Linked DNA regions of Homo sapiens: region 2 is linked to region 1. Evidence: promoter capture Hi-C in human tissues and cell types (Jung and others, 2019). All regions are on one chromosome and are shown on one strand. The core of a region is centred on a gene start or on the middle of the fragment in contact, and the rest is flanking DNA. Distances in the headings are between cores, read along the strand shown. Region 1 holds the start of EMC4 (ER membrane protein complex subunit 4). Region 2 overlaps AVEN (apoptosis and caspase activation inhibitor).

Evidence for each region. Contacts are between HindIII fragments. The study calls those that stand out against the background at their distance.
Region 2: a fragment that was not itself captured here is called in contact with the fragment with the promoter of EMC4 in region 1 in 2 of the 25 tissues and cell types used here (dorsolateral prefrontal cortex and hippocampus).

What each region holds. Positions count from the first base shown.
Region 1 is chr15:34,220,437-34,228,110 of GRCh38, reverse strand. EMC4 (ER membrane protein complex subunit 4) reads right to left here and starts at 3,095. Exons shown (of 5, transcript NM_016454.4): 1 at 2,911-3,095; 2 at 2,461-2,575; 3 at 265-418. The coding sequence starts at 2,996. RefSeq lists an enhancer at 2,732-2,781. The HindIII fragment of the contact is 15,250 bases long and covers 1-4,555 here.
Region 2 is chr15:34,022,206-34,029,879 of GRCh38, reverse strand. All of the region lies in intron 1 of AVEN (apoptosis and caspase activation inhibitor), which reads left to right. All of the region lies in intron 1 of CHRM5 (cholinergic receptor muscarinic 5), which reads right to left. Among named protein-coding and RNA genes, the nearest start is that of AVEN, 13 kb to the left of the region's middle. RefSeq lists enhancers at 6,412-6,912, 6,913-7,413. The HindIII fragment of the contact is 5,352 bases long and covers 1,867-7,218 here.

The DNA.
Region 1 (7,674 bases), core at 1,846-4,345:
CCCAGGTTCAAGTGATTCTCCTGTCTCAGCCTCCCAAGCAGCTGGGATTACAGGCGTGTGCCACCACGCCCAGCTAATTTTTGCATTTTTAGTAGAGACAAGGTTTCACCATGTTGGCCAGGCTGGTCTCGAACTCCTGCCCTCAGATGATCCACCCAGCTTGGCGCCTCCCAAAGTGCTGGGATTACAGGCGTGAGCCACCATGCCCGGCCTGCCTTTAATTCTTCAAACTTATGGAAGGGTTATTGTTTCAAGAATACTTACTGGCTGAAATGGCCATAAGTGCCTGAATGGGTCGCCAGGCCATCATACACACCATCATAGTAGGGAAGATGGAGATAGTATTGCCTGCCATGTACATGATGAAGAGATTCATGGGAATCTGTTTGAGGGGACCCAAGGCGATGTCCCAGCAGCGCTAAAACAAAACACACAATTTTAACCCTCTGATCACTACCCTTAGTCCCACATTTGCCATATCACTGATGCTAAATCACATGAACGGAATTCCCAACTCCCTGCTTCTAACTGAGCTGACTCCTCAATTCTACGACCTCTTCCCTTCTCCACGTTGCCACAGGAAGGCTCTCCTACTCAAGATAAAGTATCCTTACCATCTGTTATGCCTTTCCCTATAGGTTTTCCAGATGTCATTTTTTTCTCCTGATTTTGGAAAAAAGATCTCCCTGCTTTTGTCCTGGTACTTATGTATCTATCAATGTCCTATCTACAACTGAAGAAATAGATAAATCCACATAATGGGAGATTAGCACACCTCAGTCAATAACTAATAGAACCATCGAACTAATTTAGTTCCAGAAATAATAGAATTAGCAGGCAAATCAAGACATAGAAGATTTGAATGACATTAACAAACTTAACCCAACTGACATGTAACACTGCACTCAACAATTGCAGAATTCACATTCTTTTCAAACAAGATATTCACAAAAACTGACCACTCGCTGAGCCATGAAGAAAATGTCAATCTCAAAGAATGCAAATTGTACAAAACATATTCTTTGACTACAATGATATTAAACTAGAAATAATTTTATAGTAACTAGAAAATCTCTTATGTTTGGGAATTAACAATGATACATGAAGAAATTATAATGGAAAATAGATTTATATGATAGCAAAAGTACCACATTTTAAAACTCGTGGGACACAGCTAGAGTTCTGAGAAATTTATAACCTTAAATACATACTACCAGGTTGCTGCAAAAGTAACTGCGGTTGTTGCCATTAAAAGTAATGGCAATGTGGCCGGGCGCGGTGCCTCACACCTGTAATCCCAGCACTTTGGGAGGCCGAGCTTGGTGGATCACCTGAGGTCAGGAGTTTCAGACCAGCCTGGCCAACGTGGTGAAACCCCGTCTCTACTAAAAATACAAAAAAATTAGCTGGACGTGGTGGTGGGTGCCTATAATCCCAGCTACTCGGGAGGCTGAGGCAGGAGAATTGCTTGACCCTGGGAGGCAGAGGTTGCAGTGAGCCAAGGTCGTGCTATTGCATTCCAGCCTCGGCGACAACAGCAAGACTGTCTCAAAAGAAAAGAAAAAAAGTAATGGCAGTCTAAAAATAAACTAAGCATCCATTTCAAGAAACTAGAAAAAAACCCAAGTATTTTTGAAAAGATTAATAAAATCAATACTGGTGATGGGTACAGTGACCTGTAAAAATAAATGAAAATAATTTTTAAAAAATCAATACTGGTGAGCCTGATGAAGAAAGGAGAGGAGACAAAATATTCAATATCAGGAATGAAAAAATGAACATCACAGATCTTGCATATATGGAAGTGATCATATTATGAACAACTTTATATCAATACATTTGAAATTTTAGGAAATGGATAAGTTTCTAGAAAAAATGTAACAAAATGACAGGAGAAATTAGAAATATAAATAGCCCCGGGCCGAGCGCGGTGGCTCATGCCTGCAATCCCAGCACTTTGGAAGGCCAAGGCGGATGGATCACCTGAGGTCAGGAGTTCAAGACCAGCCTGGCAAACATGGTGATACCCTGTCTGTACTAAAAATACAAAAATTAGCCGGGCTACTGCAGAAATCTAGATGAAGGATGGTGGCTTGGATTAGGATGAGAGGTGAACACAGGAAAAAGTAGTAGGTAAAGCCAACAGAGTATCCTGACAGTTGGATATGTGGTGTAAGGGAACCAGAGTAGAAAAAGGATCACTTCAACTGGAAGATGTTGCCACCAAAAGATAGTTTTCAACCTACTTTCTTATACCTTATGTTCCAAACATCTTCTATTTTTCAAATTATTAAGCACTTTTGTAGCTGATATATAAAATACCGAAATACCAGCCTCAAGCAGTTTAGTTTCCAAATCTTCAGGATAAGAGCTATCTACGTTAACTCCACCTAGGAGAAGAGGATGAGTGTGTAACTCAGGACTGGCCCATGGGCTACGGTAACATCTATACCTCTGTACCTTCTCCACCAGGATCCGGTCTGTCTCTTGCACGCTGGTATCAGGCACTTGCTTGTCCAAGTAACCGACTGGGTAGAGCGAGTCTCCCTGGCCACTGCCCCGGTCACTTCGACCCCTAAAAAACCAAACCAAGAAACTAAAGCTGCAACCTCCGATACTTCTTATCCCACATTTCCTGATCTACCAATCATAGGAATAAAGATCTTCAGATGCACCTACTCAGATTAGACCAAGCCCCCTCGTATGTTCCTCAGTCCTTTGACTTATCAGGAGGACTGATGTAAGCATTGTTTGAGCAGAGAAACTTCCACGGCAGAAAAGCCGCTACCTCCCCAGGTGATGTCTGTGTGCCACCCATCTTTTTCAGAGTTATGCCTGAGGGCTCAGGTCTCATTACTCTGGTGCAGTTCTGGGATGAACAGTGATGTACAGCTTGCCCAGGTGCCTCACCTGCTGCCTCCTCCAGGCCCGCTTAGCTCAATGGCCCACTTGAAGCGCCGGCCTCGGTTAGCCACCAGGCCCCCCTGGGCCGTCATGGCAACAGCTGCGTCCTATAGCCTCGATGCTTCTCAGTCCAAAGCGTACTCCACAACAGGCCCACCAGCGTTCTCCGCTTTGTCTCACTCTGCAAATGCACTTCCGGCGCGTGAATACGACGTCATTTCCGCCCTGGAAATTGGTGGTGCTGTGGGTTGAGGAGTCCGGGTTTGGATTTAGAAAAGCAGGGAGGAAAAAAAACCAGGCAAGACTTAGTGCTTCCTAAAGCCACTTCCGCGCGCTCCCCTTTTGAATGTCCTTGTTATGTGTTCCCTGACCTCTGAGGTGCACTTTATGGGGCTGAAGGAAAGCCCATACTGACTCAGCGTTAAGAATTGGTGGGCGGATCACCTGAAGTCAGGAGTTCGAGACCAGCCTGGCTAACATGGTGAAACCCCGTCTCTACTAAAAATACAAAATATTAGCCGGGCTTAGTGGCGGGCGCCTGTAATCCCAGCTACTTAGGAGGCTGAGGCAGGAGAATCGCTTGGATCCGGGAGCCGGAGGTTGCAGTGAACTGAGACCGAGCGATTGCACGCCAGCCTGGGCAGCAAGAGCGAAACTCTGTCTCAAAAAAAAAAAAAAGGAAGCCAAGAAAAGCTTCTTAACCTCCTACGCGCTCCCTGGAACAAAAGATTCAAATCCTGGGTTTAAATCCTAGCTTGACCTTGAGCGAGTTACTTAGTAGTTTCTGAGTATTGAATGTCCACTGTGTCATGTGTTTATTTCATTTCACTTGCACAGTAACCTTGCGAGGTAAACAGTTCTAACCACATTCTGCACAAAGGCAAGGCAGCATTGTGGGCATGGAAGGGGACATGGGCTCGGTATTCAGTTAGCCTGCGTTTGTTGTTGTTTGTTTTGGGTTTGTTTTTTGAGACAGGGTTTCACTCCGTTGCCGAGGCTGTAGTGCAGTGGCGCTATCACGGCTCACTGCAGCCTCGACTTCCCCGGCTCAAGCGATCTTCCCACCTGAGCGTTCCTTCCAACCTGAGCGTTCCGAGGAGCTAGGACCACAGGGCGCGCCACCACGCCCCAGTCTTGTTTTGTTTTGTTTTGTTTTGTTTTGACAGGGTTTCGCTATGTTGCTCAGGCTGCTCTCAAACTCTTGGGTTCAAGTGATTCTCCTGCCTTGGCCTCCCAAAATGTTGAGATTACAAAGGCATGGGCCACTGCACCCAGCAGATGGCCTCCTTTTGAATCCTGGTTTCACCACTTAATAATTGTATGACCTTGGGCAAGTTGAATTTGTTTCAGCCTCTTCATGTAAAAGTTGGATAATCTACCTACTTTCAAGGCTTGTGAGATTAGTGCCCACCACATATCTGGTGTTTGGTTTGTTTGTGTTTTTGTTCGAGACGGAGTTTTGCTTTTGTTGCCCAGGCTGGAGTGCAATGGCACTATCTCGGCTCACTGCAACCTCCGTCTCCCGGGTTCAAGCAATTCTCCTGCCTCAGCCTCCCGAGTACCAGGGATTACAGGCGCACGCCACCACGTCCAGCTAATTTTGTATTTTTAGTAGAGATGGGATTTCACCGTGTTGGTCAGGCTGGTTTCGAACTCCCGACCTCAGGTGATCTGCCTGCCTCGGCCTCCCAAAGTGCTAGGTTATGTGGTGTTTTTAATGATGTATCACATCATTACCAAATAACACCATTGATGTGTTTTTAATGACGTGTCATTAAATAATGTATGTCATTCTTTAAAGTGATTGGGTTTTGTATGGTATACCTTTTTCATAATATAGCCTATTATTGGACATTTAAATTGTTTCCTGTTTTCCTTCCTTTTATAACCAGTGTTGCTGTGAACATATCTGTATGTCTTTTCTTATTTCCTAAAGTTATAGTCCTAGAAGTGAAATTGGAGTTGCTGGATCAAAGAGTATGCACATTTTTAAAGAATTTTCATTTTAAATGCCCACAGGAGCCAGGCGTGGTGGCTCACACCTGTCATCCCAGAACTTTGGGAGGCTGAGGCAGGAGGATTGCTTTAGCTCAGAAGTTCAAGACCAGCCTAGGCAACATAGTGAGACCTTGCCTCTGCAAACAACAACAAAAAAAATTAAAATGTCCACTAGGAAAAATGGCACCATTTACATTTCACAGTCTATAATTTTTTTAATAGTTTGAAATGGTACTGTATTATTTTTTAATTTGTATTTCTTTGACTCCAAGTTATTCGATATGGCTGGAGTTAGGGGGAAGGAGATGCTGTGGGAGGTAAGGTTGAAAAAGGCTTCCTTGGCCAACAAAAAAGTTGGGACTCTTGAAGATGATGATGATGTAAGAGAGGCTGAAGATTGCCACCTCCACTTTATTTTCTGATTTTAAAAATATGTGTTCATAGCAGACTACTTAAACAAGGCAGAAATGGAAGTCTTTTGCCTCTCCAATCCATCCTAAAATGTGTATCTATCTGATTGTAGGAAGACCTAACTATAGATTGTGTTTCTGCTCCTTTCTACTTTTTGTCTTTACCACGTTCTGTCTCATGAACCTTATATTTATCTCAAGCTTCTGACCCTATTGGGCATTCTTCTTTGTTGCATTATATGCTGCATAATAGCACTTACCACATTGCATTTTGTTTGTTAAAGTCCCCTGAGCACTTATTTCTACCCCTCTATAGGCAACCCTAAATCCCCCCAGGTCAGAAGCTATATATTATCTTTGAGCCTGTTGCCTAGAACATAGAAAGTACTGAATAAATGTTTAGCGAATGTGAGTAAATTAAATTGAAAGTAAACAAACACCAAGATGTGAATGTACTATAACTACACTTGTGCAAAATAAAACATAAAAATGGATATACATTCTATTGGGGCAATAATTTTCACGCAATTTTGTCTAATTTTCAAGATAATCTTATTACACTTTTCTTTTTTTTTTTTGAGACAGAGTCTCACTCTGTCACCGAGGCTGAAGTGCAGTGGCACGATCTTGGCTCACTGCATCCTCTGCCTCCCAGGTTCAAGCAATTTTCCTGTCTCAGCCTCCTGAGTAGCTGGGATTACAGGTGCCCGCCACCACGCCCTGTTCATTTTTGTATTTTTAGTAGAAATGGGGTTTCACTGTGTTGGCCAGGCTAGTCTCAAACTCCTGACCTCAGGTGATCCACCCACCTCGCCCACGCAAAGTGATGATTACAGGCATAAGCCACTACACCTGGCCTTCTTATTACATTTTAATACTTTTTTTTTTTTTTTTTTTTTTGAGATGGAGTCTTGCTCTGTTGCCAGGCTGGAGTGCAATGGCGCAATCTCGGCTCACTGCAACCTCCGCCTCCCAGGTTCAAGCAATTCTTCTGCCTCAGCCTCCCAAGTAGCTGAGACTACAGATGTGTGCCACTACGCCTGGCTAATTTTTGTATTTTCAGTGGAGACAGGGTGTCACCACATTGGCCAGGCTGATCTCGAACTCCTGACCTCGTGATCTGCCTGCCTCAGCCTCCCAAAGTGCTGGGATTACAGACGTGAGCCACTGCTCCTAGCCACATTTTAATAATTTTTTTTTACTTACTATTTTTTTGAGACAGGGTCTCACTGTGTTGCCCAGGCTTGTCTCAAACTCCTGAGCTTAAGCAGTCCTCCCGCCTTGGCCTCCCAAAGTGCTGGGATTACAGGCATGAGCCCACACCTGGCCCTGCTTTAATAAGTTTTAAATGAACACTTTTGAAAACATTAAGTTAGTCATTGGAATCATATATTCTTTCTACTTAAATACTCCCCTACTTGCTATAAAAATGTGTAAACTATAACCTAAATTAAAGTTGCTTTGGGCTGGGTGCTGTGGCTCACGCCTGTAATCCCAGCACTTTGGGAGGCCAAGGCAGGTGGATCACGAGGTCAGGAGTTCAAGACCAGCCTGGCCAAGATGGTGAAACCCCGTCCCTACTAAAAGTACAAAAAATTAGCTGGGCGTGATGGCAGTCATCTATAATCCCAGCTACTCAGGAGGCTGAGGCAGAGAATTTCTTGAACACAGGAGGTGGAGGTTGCAGTGAGCCAAGATTGTGCCACTGTACTCCAGCCTGGGGGACAGAGCAAGGCTCTGTCGCAAAAAAAATAAATAAACAAAAAATAAAAAGTTGCTTTGGCCTCAGTGGGAGTACTCTGGATCATTTATTTCTTTATCCTAGGAATCCTCATAGTATTATTTGTGAAACTCCGTTCCAAAAAATGAACACATCAGGACTAGGCTGAGGATGGTTCCAAGATTAGATAAATTTGAGAAATTCTACATATTATATTCTGCACACACACTCAAGAGAGTCTTAGTGCCGTTAGTATAACATATGAAAACAACAAGAAATGGTTTGGTAAAGAATCTCCTTTAATTTTGTTTCCCAATCTACTTGAGTAAGGAACCAGTTTTTTGTTGTTTTTTTTTCCTTAATACATTCGTTAACATCCAATAGAATCAGTGTTCCACAGAATACAGTGAGGGCAGCTGCTCTATATGCATGCTAGAATTCTTCAGGAGAAAGATGAAGGTCTCCCCTATAAAGCTTTGCTTGTTATTTTTAAAATATTAGAAGATCATTAGAAATAATAGGTTATTTATGGAAATGGAGCTTCAAGTTGGAATTAAAGTTTTAAAGTTTTTGCACAAATTTTGTTTCGCAAGGAAAAGAAAACTAGTGTAAGATTTTCCAGGCCTGGTGTGGTGGTTCACC
Region 2 (7,674 bases), core at 3,293-5,792, 200 kb after region 1:
TCCTTTTACTACAAGGCTGATAATAAAATAGAGTGTCTCTGTTCAATATTTGGGCTAATTGAAGATTAGTCTTATATTATTAAAGAAGTCTTAATCCCTATTACAGATACATTACACTTCAATTCCTTCCAAGGAAGTTATGATTTTTCTGGGAGCAAACCTTGATGAAAAAATGAGTATTATTCTGAAGACAAAGCTTGGCTTCCTATTTTCCCTTGGTGTCCTTCACTCCATTCCCAAGTGTTGTGTTTTGTTTTGCTGCTTCTTTTCTTTTTAAAGTCAGTAGTACTATGAATATGTAAACAACTCCTAAAGTTTTAAAACCATTTCCTTTTCAATTTTTTTTTTTTTTTTTTTTTTTTGTAGAAATAGGGTCTACCTATGTTGCCCAGGCTGGTCTTGAACTCCTGGACTCAAGTGATCCCCCTGCCTCGGCTTACCAAAGTGCTGGGATTACAGGCATGAGCCACCTTGCCCGGTTCCTAAAACTTTTTTTTCCCCCTCTTATTCTGGTAGTCAGCCAAGGGAATTATTGAATTAAGATGTGGCCAGGTGTTATTTTATGAGCACGTATTTTACATACCTTGGAAAGAAAAATTAAACATACATGTTGAATTGTTTTTCATTTTTACAATATGGAAGTAAACTTAAAGTAGAGGGTTTTTAGAGTTGGCAGTGGCGGTGGTGGGGGTGATGGAGGGTTCAGGTTTGAGCCTCAGCTGTTTTCTGTCCCTGGATGGAGAGGGGAAGGTGCTGTGGAAGCCTGAGAATGAATGTCTACTCTGGTGGGTAGCATGAACGTCTGCAGAGGGGAATCTCTGAAAACTTGAGGATTAGAGGTGAAGAGTTGTGGACAAATAGTAATTGTTATTTCAAGGTAGTAAATAAATTTATAGACAAATGAATAACTAAGATATAACCTCTCAAAACCAAGTAAGTGTTCTGCTTTTTGCCTTACTTTCTCTCCCAATTTTTTTTTTTCTGGCATCTGTGTGTTTTTCCTCTTTCTTTCAGGTGAAGGTACAATGTGGTGGCCGATGATGGTGGTGTGTTTTGCAGTCTAACAGACTGGTTAGAATCCTATCTTCTCACCCCCCATGTGCTAGTTGTAAAATCTCAGGAAAGTTACTGAAACTTCCTGAGCCTCAGTTTCCTCGCCTGTGAAAGGTGATTAAGGATATCTACCTTACACAGCTGTTGTAAGGACTGACATTAGATGAACACAATATATTTACTATATTTATAGTCACTTTGCCACTTTGCTGTCCTCTCTCATTCAGGGTCTTCTTTTTTGTTGTTGTTGTTGTTTGTTTTAAGACAAGATCTCACTTTGTTACCCATGCTGGAGTGCCCATGGCATGATGATAGCTCACCAAAGCCTTGACCTCCTTGGCTTAAGTGATCCTCCCACCTCAGCCTTCTGAATATGGGGACCAAATAGATGTGTGCCACCATGCTTGGCTAATTTTTTTATTTTTATAGAGACGGGATTTTGCCAGGTTGCACAGGCTGCTCTCGAACTCCTGGGCTCAAGTGAACCACCTGCCTTGGCTTCCCAAAGTGCTGGGACTACAGGTGTGAGCCACTGCACCTGGCCTTCTCTTGTTACAGTGTGTAGGTCAGATGCAAACTATATACTCATTCATACATACACATGAACATATGTGTATAGAATATTTAGAATCTTATTATTTATGGAATATGTATTATCTTTCTTCATTAAAAAATTTTTTAAATGGCTTGAAGCATGAAGTCTCCCAGCTTTTGCTGAGGGGGGGTCTCTCTGTGTGTGGGGTATGCTTATGCTTTCAGTGCTCTGCTAGGAAATTTACACCTCTGCCTTAGTGTTTACTTCCTGCCTGTGCAGAGCCTTAAGGGCAGCCAGAGGTGAGATATTAGGGCCTTCTCAGATCTTTTCTGCGCATGACCACAGCCTTGGACATGTGTATATCTTCCAGATTCCCAGTAATGTCAACGTTCTACAATGCCCTCTTGAACATCTTGTTCCTCAGTTTTTTCCTTTAAGGTTTTTGTCAGTTTTTTTTTTTTTTTTTGAGCCTCACCTGATCCTTGCCTCAGGTAGCTGTGATTTTAAACCCTTGTTGCTGATTGTTTTTGACAAACTCTCTGGTAATAGGACTGTTTGCACAGAGTGAAATGAGTCTGGTGGATAACGTCAAGGCCTGAGAATGGAGTTTTTCACAGAGCTGTCAGGGAGGTCAAATGGTGTCAGCCTCCTGGGAATGGGGCTTTTGGCAAACTTTTCTGCCCCTTTTAGTGGATCCAAGGATGCTGGTTTTCACAGTTACCATAGTTGTGAGGCTGTTCGTTTTCTTTCTTTTTTTTTTTTTGAGACAGAGTCTCTCTTTGTCATCCAGGCTGGAGTGCAGTGGTGCAATCTCAGCTCACTGCAACCTCTGCCTTCCGGGTTCAAGCGATTCTCCTGCCTCAGCCTCCTGTGTAGCTGGGATTACAGGTGCCCACCAACACGCCTGGCTGTTTTTTTATTTTTATTTTTTGTATTTTTAGTAGAGACAGAGTTTCGCCATGTTGGCCAGGCTGGTTTTGAACTCCTGACCTCAGGTGATCAGCCTGCCTCAGCCTCCCAAAGTGCTAGGATTACAGGTATGAGCCGAGGCTGTTCATTTTCAAAGCAACTGCAGACCAGAGTAGAGTGGAATGGGAATGGGGCACGTTACTGTTCATACTGAGATTTAGCTGTTTTAAATAAACACTCCTTGGACTTTTGTGAGTCTTTGGCTACTTTGCAGAGTTTTGAAAGAGTATATGTTGACAATTTTTGTCAGTGTTCTTGTTGCTTTTGTAGTAGAGTGGGTTTGCAGAGGTCTTTATCATTCTGGAAGTACTTCTATTCTATTTTTTGAAGCAGCCATTGCCACTCTTGGGCATCTCTAATTGTTAGAAACTTCTTCCTTTGGGACAAAACACATCATGTCACTCTTTAATTCTATTATACGTAGGCCACAGTTCTAGTCTTTGGAACAACAGAGTTTTTGGCTCAGCCAAAGCACAGAACTCTCTTAAGGTTGAACAAAAGACCGCAGGGGAAGTTTTTAATATTTAATGTGAGCGACTTACTTTTTCTGAAACTGTCAATTTGGAATTGATCACATATCCATATCAGTGTATTAAGAAGGCAAAAACTAGTGATTTAGTTACTTAGTGAAATGTGATAGTCTATCATTTTTTTTCCTCTTGTCCTCAGTGATCCTTGTTCTGATTGTCTATCTTTTCATGGGCCTGTTTTCATCATTCCTTGGAAAATTTGAGTACCTGATTTATAGTTTATATTTTTTACTACATCCTGGGTGACGTCAGCTTATATGTGATTGACACACATTACCTCCTGATTTCCTTATATGATTTCTTCAATTCCAAACTCATCTCAAGTATGACCTTTCTCAACATATCTCCCCTTGTCATCAAAATTAATCCGTGTTTCCTTTCCTCCCCTTTAATATAAAAGGTTAAAAGTTATATCCTAAGGTTAAAAGTTACACCCTGAGGTTAAAAGCTTCATCTATTTTGCTGTCACATAGTAGGAAAAATACCAAGAAGAAAATAAAAGTGCCCTTTAGTATCATCATCCAGAAATAACCACTGTTAACATTTGATGTATATTCTTTTCTCATAAAACTGGGAAGATGTCATAAGACTTTTAAGTAAAAAAAAAATGACAATATGTGGAAATTATAAGGTATATGTATGCATTTAAAACTCTGAAAAGGGTAGAAGAATATCAAACTTAATCTGTGTTTGGAGTAGAGAAAATATAGGGATTATGTAGAACTTTGTCTTTCCTTTATTCATATTTTTTACTGTTGTGTATTATCAGAAACATAGATATATTCCAATTTGAAAAGACGATTCTACAAATATATTGTGATTATAAAAATAGGGAAGACAGGTAGGCAAGACTGCACATAAAAACTGTAAGGATTATCTCTGGGTGGTGAGATTATGTGGTATTGTGTGTGGTAAGTGTAAACACGGGCTTTGTGGGGCAAGATGATCACTTGAGTTTGGACAGGTCCAGTGCCTGTCTTTTTCTCCTTCCTCCGCTTTACACATGCGCACACACACACAAACACACACACACACGCAAAACCAAACCAAAACAAAAACACACACACACAATTTTTTTTTCTTCTGAACCTTTGAGCGGTGGATATGATGCGTCTTTACCCCTAAACACTTCAATGTGTATTTCCTAAAAGCAAGGAAATCTTTTATAACCATTGCACAATTATCAAAATCAGGACATTAACATTGCTACAATTCTATTTAACCTTACAGAGGTTTCACCAGATGACCCAATAACGTCCTTTATTAGGCTTCGAGTCTTGAGCAATGATGTATGGATGAAGGGACACTTAAGAGAGTCTTCACTATGGCAGTTACCATGGCATCCTAACCACTCTAGTCTACTTCTCTGATTGTTCCTGTGGCTGGGTTCTCAGCTGCCTGCTTCCTGCTCATTTTTTATTCAGCCTATTTCTCTAAACTTCTTGTCGATTTTATAAGCTACTAGAAATTCTTTTAGTAAATTCCTTTTCTACCTAAATTAGCCAGAGTTGGTTTCTATAGTTTGCAACCAAAACTCTAGTAAATTACATTTCCCTCCCACACTTCATATTTCAGAATCTTATTCATTTTCACATGCTCACCTCAAATGCCACCCTTTTTTTTGAGATGGAGTCTCACTCCATCGCCCAGGGTGGAGTGCAGTGGTGCGATCTCTGCTTATTGCATCCTCTGCCTCCCGGGCTCAAACGATTCTCCTGCCTCAGCCTCCCAAGTAGCTGGATTACAGGCTCCTACCACCATGCCCAGCTAATTTTTGTATTTTTAGTAGAGACGGGGTTCTCTACTGGTCTCAAAATCCTGACCTCAGGTAATCCACCTGCCTTGGCCTCCCAAAGTGCTAGGATTACAGGTGTGAGCCACCATGCCCGGCCTCGCCACCTTTCTTTCTTTTTATTTTTTCCTTTTTTTTTTGAGAAGGAGTCTTGCTTTGTCGCCCAGGCTGGAGTGCAATGGCACGATCTCGGCTCACTGCAACCTCTGCCTCTTGGGTTCAAGCTATTCTCCTGCCTCAGCCTCCTGAGTAGCTGGGATTACAGGCGTGTGCCACCATGCGTGGCTAATTTTTGTATTTTTTTTTTTTTTTAGTAGAGACGGGGTTTCACCATGTTGGTCAGGCTGGTCTCGAACTCCTGACCTCATGATCCGCCCGCCTCGGCCTCCCAAAGTGCTGGGATTACAGATGTGAGCCACTGTGCCTGGCCTTCCTTTTTATTTATAGTAATTTGTAGTTTTAATTTGATAGTTTTCCTTAATGAATATTCTGTGAGCAAAGTGCTTCTTTTTTTTTTTTTTTTTTTTTGAGACAGGGTCTCATTCTGTTGCCCAGGCTGGAGGGCAGTGGTGCAGTCTTGGCCTTGGCCTCCCAAAATGCTGGGATTATAGGTGTAAGCCACCACGCCCAGCCTTCAGAGGTTTCTTCATAGAGATTGCCGCCCATCACTCTTCATCTCATACCTACTTTATTTTGATACCATTTATCACTACCTGAAGTGATGGTGTCTTATGTATTTATAATAGCATTATAAAGTATTCCTTTTTTGTTGTTTGACTCCTCTGGTGGAATGCAAACTTCATGGGTGCATGGAATTGGTCTTGTTCACTGCTATAATCCAAGCACACTGACTAATGCCTGGCATAGTATCAGCTCTCAGTAGATATTTGTTGTGTAATTGAATAAAGGATTTTGTGTTTAAGCAAGGGATTACTTGCAGTATTCTGGAAACATTCACATTTATTTTCTGGTAGCAGGTTTTATGCTTTTCCTGTTACGATTAAAACCAGTGAAGGGAGAAGAGGTTTAGCTTACATCTGAAATCAAATCCACTCTCTGGGCTCCTCTCTGGATAGAGTCCTCTATTTTGCCATCAATAAAAAGAGCCAGAATGAGTTTAAATTTCCCTGGCCAAAAACGTGGCATCTGTCAGAATTTCTAACACATGTTTTCTTTCTTTGATGCCCTTCACAGCCTGAAGGTGTATAGATTAGGTCTTTTTAGTTGCTAGCAGCACACAATAAGCAGCTGTTTACTTTTAATATTTAACTGCTCACCTGGCCTTTTAAGCCTGGCGTGATTGAAGGGATGGCAAGCAACAGAGGCTTACAGAGTAGGGGCAAGAATAGGACAGTGTTCCAGAGGTCAGAGAGTTTTTTTATTTTCTTCCATCTTTTGTTAGAGTCTGAAATAAATGGTGACACCTAAGAGGAGGTTAAGAAATTGTGCACTGAATCTCAGGTTTTGCAAGAATGAATGACCAGGCTTTCTCTACCCTGACAGCATCATCAAGAGGAAGGTGAGAGGTGGGCTGCGCCTGAGCTCTGGTGTGTATCGGCTATCATTATGTGATGTGGCCAAGAGAGATGCTGCCGCAACAACTGTTACTAAGATTACTAGGGAGGACTCGGCCAAGATGAGGTTAGCCCACCACAGCCTATTTCTTTTGCTGATAGCAACCAAACTCAGTGGGCAGATTACCTGAGGACTCAGAAAAGTAAAGAAAAGCTGGCAGATTGTGAAGTGAAAGCCTGGAGTAGCAACCTGAGTGGGGGATGAGAGGGGTAAGTTTCTCATTGTTCTTTTCCTTTTTTTTTTTCTGAGACCGAGTCTCGCTCTGTTGCCAGGCTGGAGCGCAGTGGCGCGATCTCAGTTCACTGCAGCCTCTGCCTGGGTTCAAGCAGTTCTGCCTCAGCCTCCTGAGTAGCTGGGACTACAGGCGCACACCACCACGCCAGGCTAATTTTTGTGTTTTTAGTAGAGATGGGGGTTTCACCATGTTGGCCAAGCTAGTCTTGAACTCCTGACCTTGTGATCCGCCCGCCTCGGCCTCCCAAAGTGCTGGGATTACAGGCGTGAGCCACCGCGCCCGGCCTCATTGTTCTTTTCTATCTGGCTTTGAGCCAAAGGCAAGCTTTCAGCAGAGCTGCAGTGGTGGTACAGAGGTAGCAAAAATCCAAGAGAAATCTCATCCTTCCAGCCAGAAGGTCAGGAAAATGTAAGCTGGAGAGTGTGTGTGTGTTGGGGGAATGCTTTCCTTTTTTAATCACAGTGGGCAGAATCCTTGGAGTCTTTAAAATTCTGTGAAGCAGAGAGATAATCTCATACTTATGCAAAAGGTGTAAGGCAACCATAATGTTAGTATTCTAACTCCAAGGGAATTTTACCAGCATGCAGATGTTCAGGCTTGCATGTCAGGCTGTGGCCCAGCCTCAAAGTTTGTGTACCCTTCCTGCTGCGTAGTCCTGATCCTGGGATTTGCATTTTGTTCTGATGGATGGGGAGCTTTGAGAAAATCCACCTTTCTCTAATACAAGGTAAAAGCTTTCTCCCTTCTGTAGGCGCCTTTGCTGCCCTTTCTTTTAATTAAATATTTTTTCCTCCCTAATGTTGGGAGAGCTTCCTAAAGGTCACAATTGAAAAGAGCTGCAGAAGGGAGATGCAGATTATAGTAGTATTCTGTCTTGTCATGGGGAAAATTGTCTTGTTAATTGTTCTGCCTCTGAAAAATGTTTTCTTATTTCTCCATTCTGGTTAAAATTGTCAGGATTGGAAAGAAGGAATTTTTGCTAACA